Linked DNA regions of Homo sapiens: all the other regions are linked to region 2. Evidence: promoter capture Hi-C in human tissues and cell types (Jung and others, 2019). All regions are on one chromosome and are shown on one strand. The core of a region is centred on a gene start or on the middle of the fragment in contact, and the rest is flanking DNA. Distances in the headings are between cores, read along the strand shown. Region 1 holds the start of AGBL2 (AGBL carboxypeptidase 2). Region 2 holds the start of ACP2 (acid phosphatase 2, lysosomal). Region 3 overlaps CELF1 (CUGBP Elav-like family member 1).

Evidence for each region. Contacts are between HindIII fragments. The study calls those that stand out against the background at their distance.
Region 1: a contact is called between the fragment with the promoter of AGBL2 here and the fragment with the promoter of ACP2 in region 2, in 2 of the 25 tissues and cell types used here (adrenal gland and heart left ventricle).
Region 3: a contact is called between a fragment that was not itself captured here and the fragment with the promoter of ACP2 in region 2, in 1 of the 25 tissues and cell types used here (hippocampus).

Annotation. Positions count from the first base shown.
Region 1 is chr11:47,714,034-47,716,733 of GRCh38, reverse strand. AGBL2 (AGBL carboxypeptidase 2) reads left to right here and starts at 1,365. Exons shown (of 19, transcript NM_024783.4): 1 at 1,365-1,559; 2 at 1,984-2,116; 3 at 2,387-2,450. The coding sequence starts at 2,084. It overlaps FNBP4 (formin binding protein 4), which reads left to right. Exons shown (of 17, transcript NM_015308.5): 17 at 1-240. RefSeq lists an enhancer at 1,628-1,687. The HindIII fragment of the contact is 9,102 bases long and covers 1-2,700 here.
Region 2 is chr11:47,247,463-47,250,162 of GRCh38, reverse strand. ACP2 (acid phosphatase 2, lysosomal) reads left to right here and starts at 1,349. Exons shown (of 11, transcript NM_001610.4): 1 at 1,349-1,487; 2 at 2,030-2,125; 3 at 2,436-2,522. The coding sequence starts at 1,374. It also overlaps a transcript of NR1H3 not described here. RefSeq lists a silencer at 906-1,073 and enhancers at 1,154-1,663, 1,794-1,883. The HindIII fragment of the contact is 13,067 bases long and covers 1-2,700 here.
Region 3 is chr11:47,541,258-47,544,043 of GRCh38, reverse strand. All of the region lies in intron 1 of CELF1 (CUGBP Elav-like family member 1), which reads left to right. Among named protein-coding and RNA genes, the nearest start is that of CELF1, 10 kb to the left of the region's middle. RefSeq lists an enhancer at 1,378-1,877. The HindIII fragment of the contact is 9,031 bases long and covers 1-2,786 here.

The sequences.
Region 1 (2,700 bases), core at 116-2,615, 470 kb before region 2:
ATTCACCTCCTTTCTTTATGTGAATGTATTCTCCATAAAATTCCAGTATTTAAAAAGCAGTTTACTGTTCTGTACTTTCTGTTGTATCACAATCAGGTAAAAGTCACTTTAAACTGAGGAAACGGCAAATTGTGTTTTAAAGCTCTTTGTATTTCTCCAGTTTCTGACCTTGTAAATTTGTATATATGCACTAATAAAGCTTTTTTTATAATCCTGATGGGTTATCCTTTTGCTCGTCAACTCCTGTTATTCTGATTATGTAACCAGGACTTGTTTTTTTTTCTAAGCATATACAATGCAAGGTGCAAACATTTAACAACAGCTTTCAAGAAAATGAGCAGGAGATCTTTAATGGGGAGTGGTGGGGCCAGTTTAGACAAACAGGCTTCTAGTCCCAGATGGTGCTGTGTGATCAAAGTTTTGGGGTCTAATATTATCTATAATATCTAGATTGGTTAATAGCCATATTAGATAATATTTTACCTACTTAATTCCTGGCAATGATGTAATATGGTTAACATTTCAGAAAAAAAGGTGCTTTATAGCTTTTTTCCCCCCACTGATAAAAGTAACAGATACGGTTATATTCATATATAGTTAACCAAAGACACGTGTTTGAATTTTATTGTAGTATATTTATTTTTTTGTTGTTGGTTTTTTGTTTTTTTTTTTTCTGGAGACAGAATTTCGCTCTTGTTGCTCAGGCTGGAGTGCAATGGCACGATCTCGGCTCACCGCAACCTCCGCCTCCCAGGTTCAAGTGATTCTCCTGCCTCAGCCTCCCGAGTAGCTGGGATTACAGGCATGCGCCACCACACCCAGCTAATTTTGTATTTTTAGTAGAGATGGGGTTTTTCCATGTTGGTCAGGCTAGTCTCCAACTCTCGACCTCCCAAAGTTCTGGGATTACAGGCGAGAGCCACCGCGCCTGGCCTGGAGTAAATTTCTATGCATATAATTGATTTTTTTAAACCTAATCAAAATGTGTGATTTGAATTTGTTAGCTCTGTTTCTTAAGATTTGCAGTGTAGAAGGTAATTTTTCCTTTCTAGCTGTGCAGTGGAGAGAATGTTAAGGTGAAAGGAGAGAAGCAGCAGCTCTCTTAGAGCAAATTATGCATAACAGTTATCTAAAGCCAACAGCAAACCAGCTTGGAAGTATGTTGAAGGCTACTGGCATCGTACTCATCAATGCGGTTTCGATTCCGAGGCTGGGGCTGTGATGTATGAGGGGAAGAAAGCCGCTGCCCGCCATACATGTTGCAGACCTTCCCGGGGTCCCCGCTCCCTCCTTGGGGGCGAGGCCTAGCTCCCCGGAAGCGCCCGACCGCCCCGCCCTTTCTCCGCTTCCTGCTTTCGGTTGCTAGACTACCCGGGCCCTCACAGAAGGCGGTGGCGGGCGGGTGCAGCGAGTTTGTCCCCTTGCCCGCACACTGCTTGGCCTCTGTACTTAAGTGCGGTGGCCGCCTGCCTCGCTGGAGCTTCTCTGCCGCAGCCATCCGTGCTGCTTGGGACGGGCCGGGGCGCGAAGGCGGTCGCATCCATCGCTCTGCCCTCCTGGGAAGTTTCTGCTCTCCTTCCCCGCTCCTACCCTTAGGAAACCCCCTCACCACCTGCCCCAGACCAGGTTCCTCTGAACCCTAAATTCAATCTTTAGGGCCCACTTTCCCAACCCCCTGACCTTTTTCCATCGGCACCTACCGAGACGACTTCGTCGCGTGCTCCCATACCCATTTCTTTCACTTTCCTGTGGCGAGCATCTCCTTTCTCAGGGAAAGGGAAGCATGGGGCCAGCACCTTGGGAAGAAGAAGCGGGAAGATACGCTGCCCTCCCTGTCTCAGATGCACCTCTGGCCTCGGCGTGACCACCTTGTTTAGCTGAGGAGAAGCTGGGTTGGCAGGGTTTTCTGAAGTCAAGAGGGAGCTGGGGGGCGCCCGGGGAGGTATTGGCAGTTTTTTCACTTGTCCTCTTGTGGCTTTGTAGCTTCTCTTGTGTAATCAGCTGCCTATTTGGAAATTGGGCAGGGTTTGCGACTGGATGCTAATGTCACTGACTAGTTTTCAGCCTACCATCCAGAAGTAACATGTTCCCAGCTTTGGAAACGCACCTAAAGCAGGTCGGTACACAACACGGAAAGCCACAGAAATTTCTTCGGGGAACTCCATTTCTTCGGGAACTCCACAGAAATCTGCTACTAGATGAGAAGGGATGTTCTGGTGGCATCTTTTCTCAGCTGGAGATCTTGATCCCCACGATAGAATAATTCGCATGGAATGCAGCTCGCTTGGTTTAGTCTAGTCCTATGCAACAACGCTCATGTACTTTTTGTTGAGTCTATTATGGTTTGAAAACATTATCTTGATTGAAGTGGCCTTTCCTTTCACAGACTATTCCTGATCCTTATGAAGACTTTATGTACCGTCACCTCCAATATTATGGCTACTTTAAAGGTAATACCATGTTCTTATCTAGTATCACCTTTCCTGGACTCAAGAGGAAAATTGCTTCGTTAGCTGGGAGGGTTGCACTTGGGTAGACTAATAAATAATTTGCATTGACAAATAAATACTTTTTCCTCTACCATTAGTGAAAAGTACTTCCTTTCCCCATTGATCTGCGGGTCACCTCTGTCAAGTAGACAGCATCACTTAATACAAAGGTCTGTTTCTGGGCTCTCTATTCCATTGGTCTGTTTGGCTA
Region 2 (2,700 bases), core at 100-2,599:
AGTGCTGGGATTAGAAACGTGAGCCACCACACCAAGCCTAATCAGGTTTTTGTTGTTGTTGTTTTGAGACAGTCTCACTCTGTCGCGCAGGCTGGAGTGCAGTGGCGTGATCTCAGCTCACTGCAACCTCCGCTTTCCGAGTTCAAGCGATTCTCCTGCCTCAGCCTCCAGAGTAGCTGGGATTACAGGAGCACGCCACTGCACCCGGCTAATTTTTTTTTTTTTGTATTTTTAGTAGAGACGGGGTTTCGCCACGTTGGCCAGGCTGGTCTCGAACTCCTGACCTCAGGTGATCTGCCTGCTTCGGCCTCTCAAAGTGCTGGTATTACAGGTGAGCCACGGCGCCCAGGCCAAGCCTGATCAGTTTTGTTTCCCAAAGATCTGAGGAGATTTGCTTCCAGTAGGCAGATCTGAATCAAAGCATCCCCAGGACCTATGATCTGACCTGCAACCGTCACAGGAGTCACAAAGTCCTGAGGCCAAACTGGCTGCACCTGAATCCTAATGGTCAATGCCAAGAGGGCCATTGATTCTGTGGAAACCCCACCTACTCCCACTTTATGATATGCGCCTGTCCCTTACCTCAAAATACCTCCCCACTGGTCTGAAATTCCTCCCCCAGGGATTCAGTGCTTTGGGTTTGTAAAGTCTGAACATCCTGTGCAACCCAACTCCTTTGGGAAGAGGCATGACATGACGTCTTGACTCTAATTAACTAAAACTTGGAAGTGGAGGGGAGGGAGGACAGGGAAAGGACTGGAAGGGAAAGTGAGAGGGCTACTGAAGCTTTGTGCAGGGCAGGAACGGTAGGCCAGACTGGGGCAACCTCAAGGACACACGGAGTCCAAAGGGTTGTTTACATACTGTGTCCTGCACCCCAAGCAAAACATCTCCTGGAGAACAGGGCCAGGGCTCAATCTCCCCACAAAGGCAGGGGCGTGGAGAGAAGCGACCTCTACTTTCCCATCCCTCGCCTCAATTCTGCACCCGATCTAGCTATGGGGTCAAGCCTGGAGGGGACGCTGGTTCTCCAGACATGGTCCCGCCCACTGCAAGTGCCACCTTGGTAAGGGATTTCTCCGAGCAGAGGCAAACGCGAATTTGTGGCCTTCTTAATCAAGATGAGGTCTTCGAGCCCTGTCTGCCGCGCCAGGTCGCGTTACCTTCTTATGCTCCTCCGCCACAGCCAGACCACGACCCTCCTGCACGCAATCCCACCGAGACTGCGCCTTTTCCCCGCACCCCAGCAGGTCCCTAAGTAAGATGGCGGCGAACGCACTTCCGGCGTGTGTCCTTACGGGTGCGTCCGGGCGGCTGCTTGCAGGTGCCACCCAGCGGGTTCCAGCTTGTTTGCTGCATAGATTACAACGGTGATGGCGGGCAAGCGGTCCGGCTGGAGCCGGGCGGCTCTCCTCCAGCTCCTTCTCGGCGTGAACCTGGTGGTGATGCCGCCCACCCGGGCCCGGAGTCTGCGCTTCGTTACCTTGGTAATGAGAGATGGGCTCACCAAAGACTTCCCTGAAGCTAAAAGGGCAAAGGCCAGCTGGTGGAGGTCGAGGATCTCGGGAAGGAACAGCTGGTTTAGGAGGGGACGACTGGCCTGGGTAGTTGGGAGGCTGGATTCAGGATTGACCTGGAGCCCTGGCTTATGGGAGTCAGGATGACCGAATACGTCGGGGTGAGTCTGCCTTGAGACAGGGAAGTGGTTGAATGGTTAAGACTCATCCCTAAAGAAGCCTTTGGTTATCTTTTTTCCCCAGTTGTCCCCACCACATACGTTGCTTTCACTTCTCTTTTCCCTTCCTACCTGTACCTTGGCTTTGCCTATGGTCTCCAGTAGCATTGCTTAGCTAAGTTAGAATCTCTGGAATCTGGAAGAAGTGACTGACTCCTAGCTGGGGTCTTTTGCAGCCAGTAGGCTTCCCAGAGGGAATGAGACTTCCTTCCCTAACATGGGGCAAAAGGTAGGCTCTGGGTCCCTATCAAGGGGATGCTTCTGACCTATAGGCAAACCATTTTATTCTCTCAGCTGTACCGCCATGGAGACCGTTCACCAGTGAAGACATATCCCAAGGACCCCTATCAGGAAGAAGAATGGCCCCAGGGGTTTGGTCAGTTAACCAAGGTGGGTCAGAAGCCAGCCTTTCCTCAGGATGAGCTGCAGAATGAGCGACGTCTAGAGCAGTCTACAAAACTTGGGGTCCTACTAAACTGCCTTTTCCCATATGGGTGCTGACTTTGACCAGATTTCATAACCTTAATCTCTGTGCCCATGATATTGCTGTGCATGACTGGCCACTTAATGAAAGACTTCTGGGATCAGATTAATTGACTCCAGCAAAGCGTGAACCTGGAAAGCAACAGGGCCTAAACCCCATGGGGCTTGAAGCCACCCCTTCCCTCTAGACCCTCTTAACCCTTGGGTTTGCCCACAGGAGGGGATGCTACAGCACTGGGAACTGGGCCAGGCCCTGCGGCAGCGCTATCACGGCTTCCTAAACACCTCTTATCACCGGCAAGAGGTAAGGTTGGGAGCTCCAGAGGCAAGGGGAACAAGGTATGCTGCCCTCATCTTTTGCCCTCAGGGAGCCTAAGGCTGAGGCTGGGCACTTTGGCCTCCTTCTTGTATTTTTGGTCACAACTACAGGAAAAGACATCTGAGAGCTGTCTGGAACAAAGCCCTAGGAGCTGAGTTGCCCC
Region 3 (2,786 bases), core at 220-2,719, 290 kb before region 2:
GTTTCCTAGATTTCATATTCACTATTTCTACTTTGAGAGTCTACTGTTAGGAGGCTTCTGTGTTCAAAGAAAACTGAAAATTATAAATGAATATTTTGGATTTGTAATAGGGGACACTTGGGTCTCTTCGTAGTTTCAAGTGACAAGTTGAGGCGGGGAGGAGGGCTCTAATATTTAGAGTTGTAATGCAGATTTAAGACTTAATCAGTTTTAGCTATTTGCTTTGTAAACTATATTGTATCAAGAGTCCTTATTTGCCGAAAACAGCTTTCTTTTTTTTTTAGAGACGGGGTGGGGACAGGGGTCCACGGGTCCGCTATGTAGCCCAAACTGGTGCAAACTCTTGAGCTCAAGCAGTCCTCCTGTCTCAGCCTCCTGAGTAGTTGGGATTGATTACAGGAGGGCAACATCATGACTGCCTTGAAGACAGTTTCCTTGATGAGACCTTTGTAAAATAACTTTGGTCTTGTCATAGAATTGGCTTAGAATCTTCTTAAAGTAGAGGTTTCTTTATAGAATTCTATAGTTATTTTTTAACCTCTGCTGTGCTGTGGAGGCCATGAGTACATATTTGTTTATTTTACACTTCATTAAGTTCCAGATTTGTAAAGTTTGGGGCTTTTTTGGGCTGTTGTTTTCCGAGACAAGGTCTCATTGTGTCACTCAGGCTGGAGTGCAGTGGCGTTATCGTGGCTCACTGTAGCCTCAACCTCCCAGGCCTCAAGTGATTCTTCCCCACCTCAGCCTCCCAAGTAGCCGGGACTATAGGTGCGCAACACCACGCTTGGCTAATTTTATTTTTTGTAGAGATGGGGTCCCACTATGTTTCCCAGGCTGGTCTTGACCCCCTGGTCTCTAGCAATCCTCCTGCCTCGGCCTCCCAAAGTGCTGGGATTACAGGCATGAGCTACCATGCTGGCCTTCTTTTCCATTAGAGACAGGATCTCTCTTTGTTGCCCAGACTTGAGTGCAGTGGTGCAATTATAGCCTGGAACTCTTGGGCTCAAGCGATCCTCCAGCCTCAGCTTTCCGAGTAGCTGGGACTACAGGTGCACACTGCTACACCTGGCTAATTTTTGTAGTATTTGTAGAGACGGGATCTCTCCTAGTCTTGAACACCTGTCCTCAAGTGATCCTCCTGCCTTGGCCTCCCAAAGTGTTGGGATTACAGGTGTGAGCTGCCGCACCCAGCCCTGTTGATATTTTCTAAAGATGAGCACAGTCCAGCCCTGTTGATATGTTGTAAAGCTGAGCACGGTGGCTCACGCCTTTAATCCCAGCACTTTGGGAGGCCAAGACACGCGGATCACGTGAGGCCAGAAGTTTGAGACCAGCCTGGCCAACATGGTGAAACACTGTCTCTACTGAAAATACAAGACTTAGCCAGATGTGGTGGTGCGTGTCTGTAATCCCAGCTCCTCAAGTGGCTGAGGCACAAGAATGGCTTGAACCCAGGAGGTGAAGGTTGCAGTGAACTGAGATCACGCCACTACACTCCAGCCTGGGCAACAGGGAGACCCTGTCTCAAAAAAAAAAAAAAAAAAAAATGGAGAAAGTATCAAGAATGATGAGGTTTTTTTAGTGATTGCATTGATACCTAATGGATCTCACTTAATCAAATTTGATGTGCCACTTTTAGATATGTTCATGGGTGCAGATACGGCTTTATTTATTTGAGACAGAGTTTCACTCTTGTTGCCCAGGGTGGAGTGCAGTGGTGCGATCTCAGCTCACTGCAGCCTTCGCCTCCCGGGTTGAAGCGATTCTTCTGCCTCAACCTCGAGTAGCTGGGATTATAGGCACCTGCCAGCATGCCTGGCTAATTTTTGTATTTTTAGTAGAGATGGGGTTTCACCATGTTGGCTAGGCTGGTCTCGAACTCCTGACCTCAGGTGATCCACCTGCCTCGGCCTCCCGAAGTGCTGAAATTACAGACGCACGCCACCGCGCCCAGCCCAGTACGGCTTTAGAAAGAACTCTCCACTAACTTTATGACCTCCAGGTCTTCTTTTTATAGCTACATTCAGCTTTGACAAAATGGAGTTGAATAATTTTACTTTCTTTCTAAGTTATAACTCCATTAAAACTGTGTTTTGGGGGGGAATGTCTTTAGTTTGGGGATTATGCAAAATGAAGTTTTTTGATTCCTGGGCTGTGTAATTTTGTACTGTTATACTTTTAATTTCGAAGGGTCAGTAGTTTCCATTTTCTTTCTTTCTTTCTTTCTTTCTTTCTTTCTTTCTTTCTTTCGTTCTTTCTTTCGTTCTTTCTTTCGTTCTTTCTTTCGTTCTTTCTTTCTTTCGTTCTTTCTTTCGTTCTTTCTTTCTTTCTTTCTTTCTTTCTTTCTTTCTTTCTTTGACAGTCTCGCCCTGTCACCAGGCTCTGGAGTACAGTGGTGAGATCTTGGCTCGCTGCAACCTCTGCCTCCTGGGTTCAAGCGATTCTCCTGCCTCAGCCTCCCAAGTTGCTGGGATTATAGGCATGCGCCACCACACCCAGCTAATTTTGTGTTTTAAGTAGAGACGGGGTTTCACCATGTTGGCCAGGCTGGTCTCAAACTCCTGACCTCAGGAGATCCACCCGCCTTGGCCTCCCAAAGTGCTGGGATTACAAGTGTGAGCCTCCACACCTGGCCAAGTAGTTTCCATTTTCATAGTAACATTGCTACTCTTTAGCAAAATAATCATTAAGTTAGAAACTGTCACCACTTTCTCCTTGTTCTTTTACCTTTTTGTTTCCTGTGAGATTGAGTAAGCTCTTGCAGACTGTGTGAATATGTATGATAT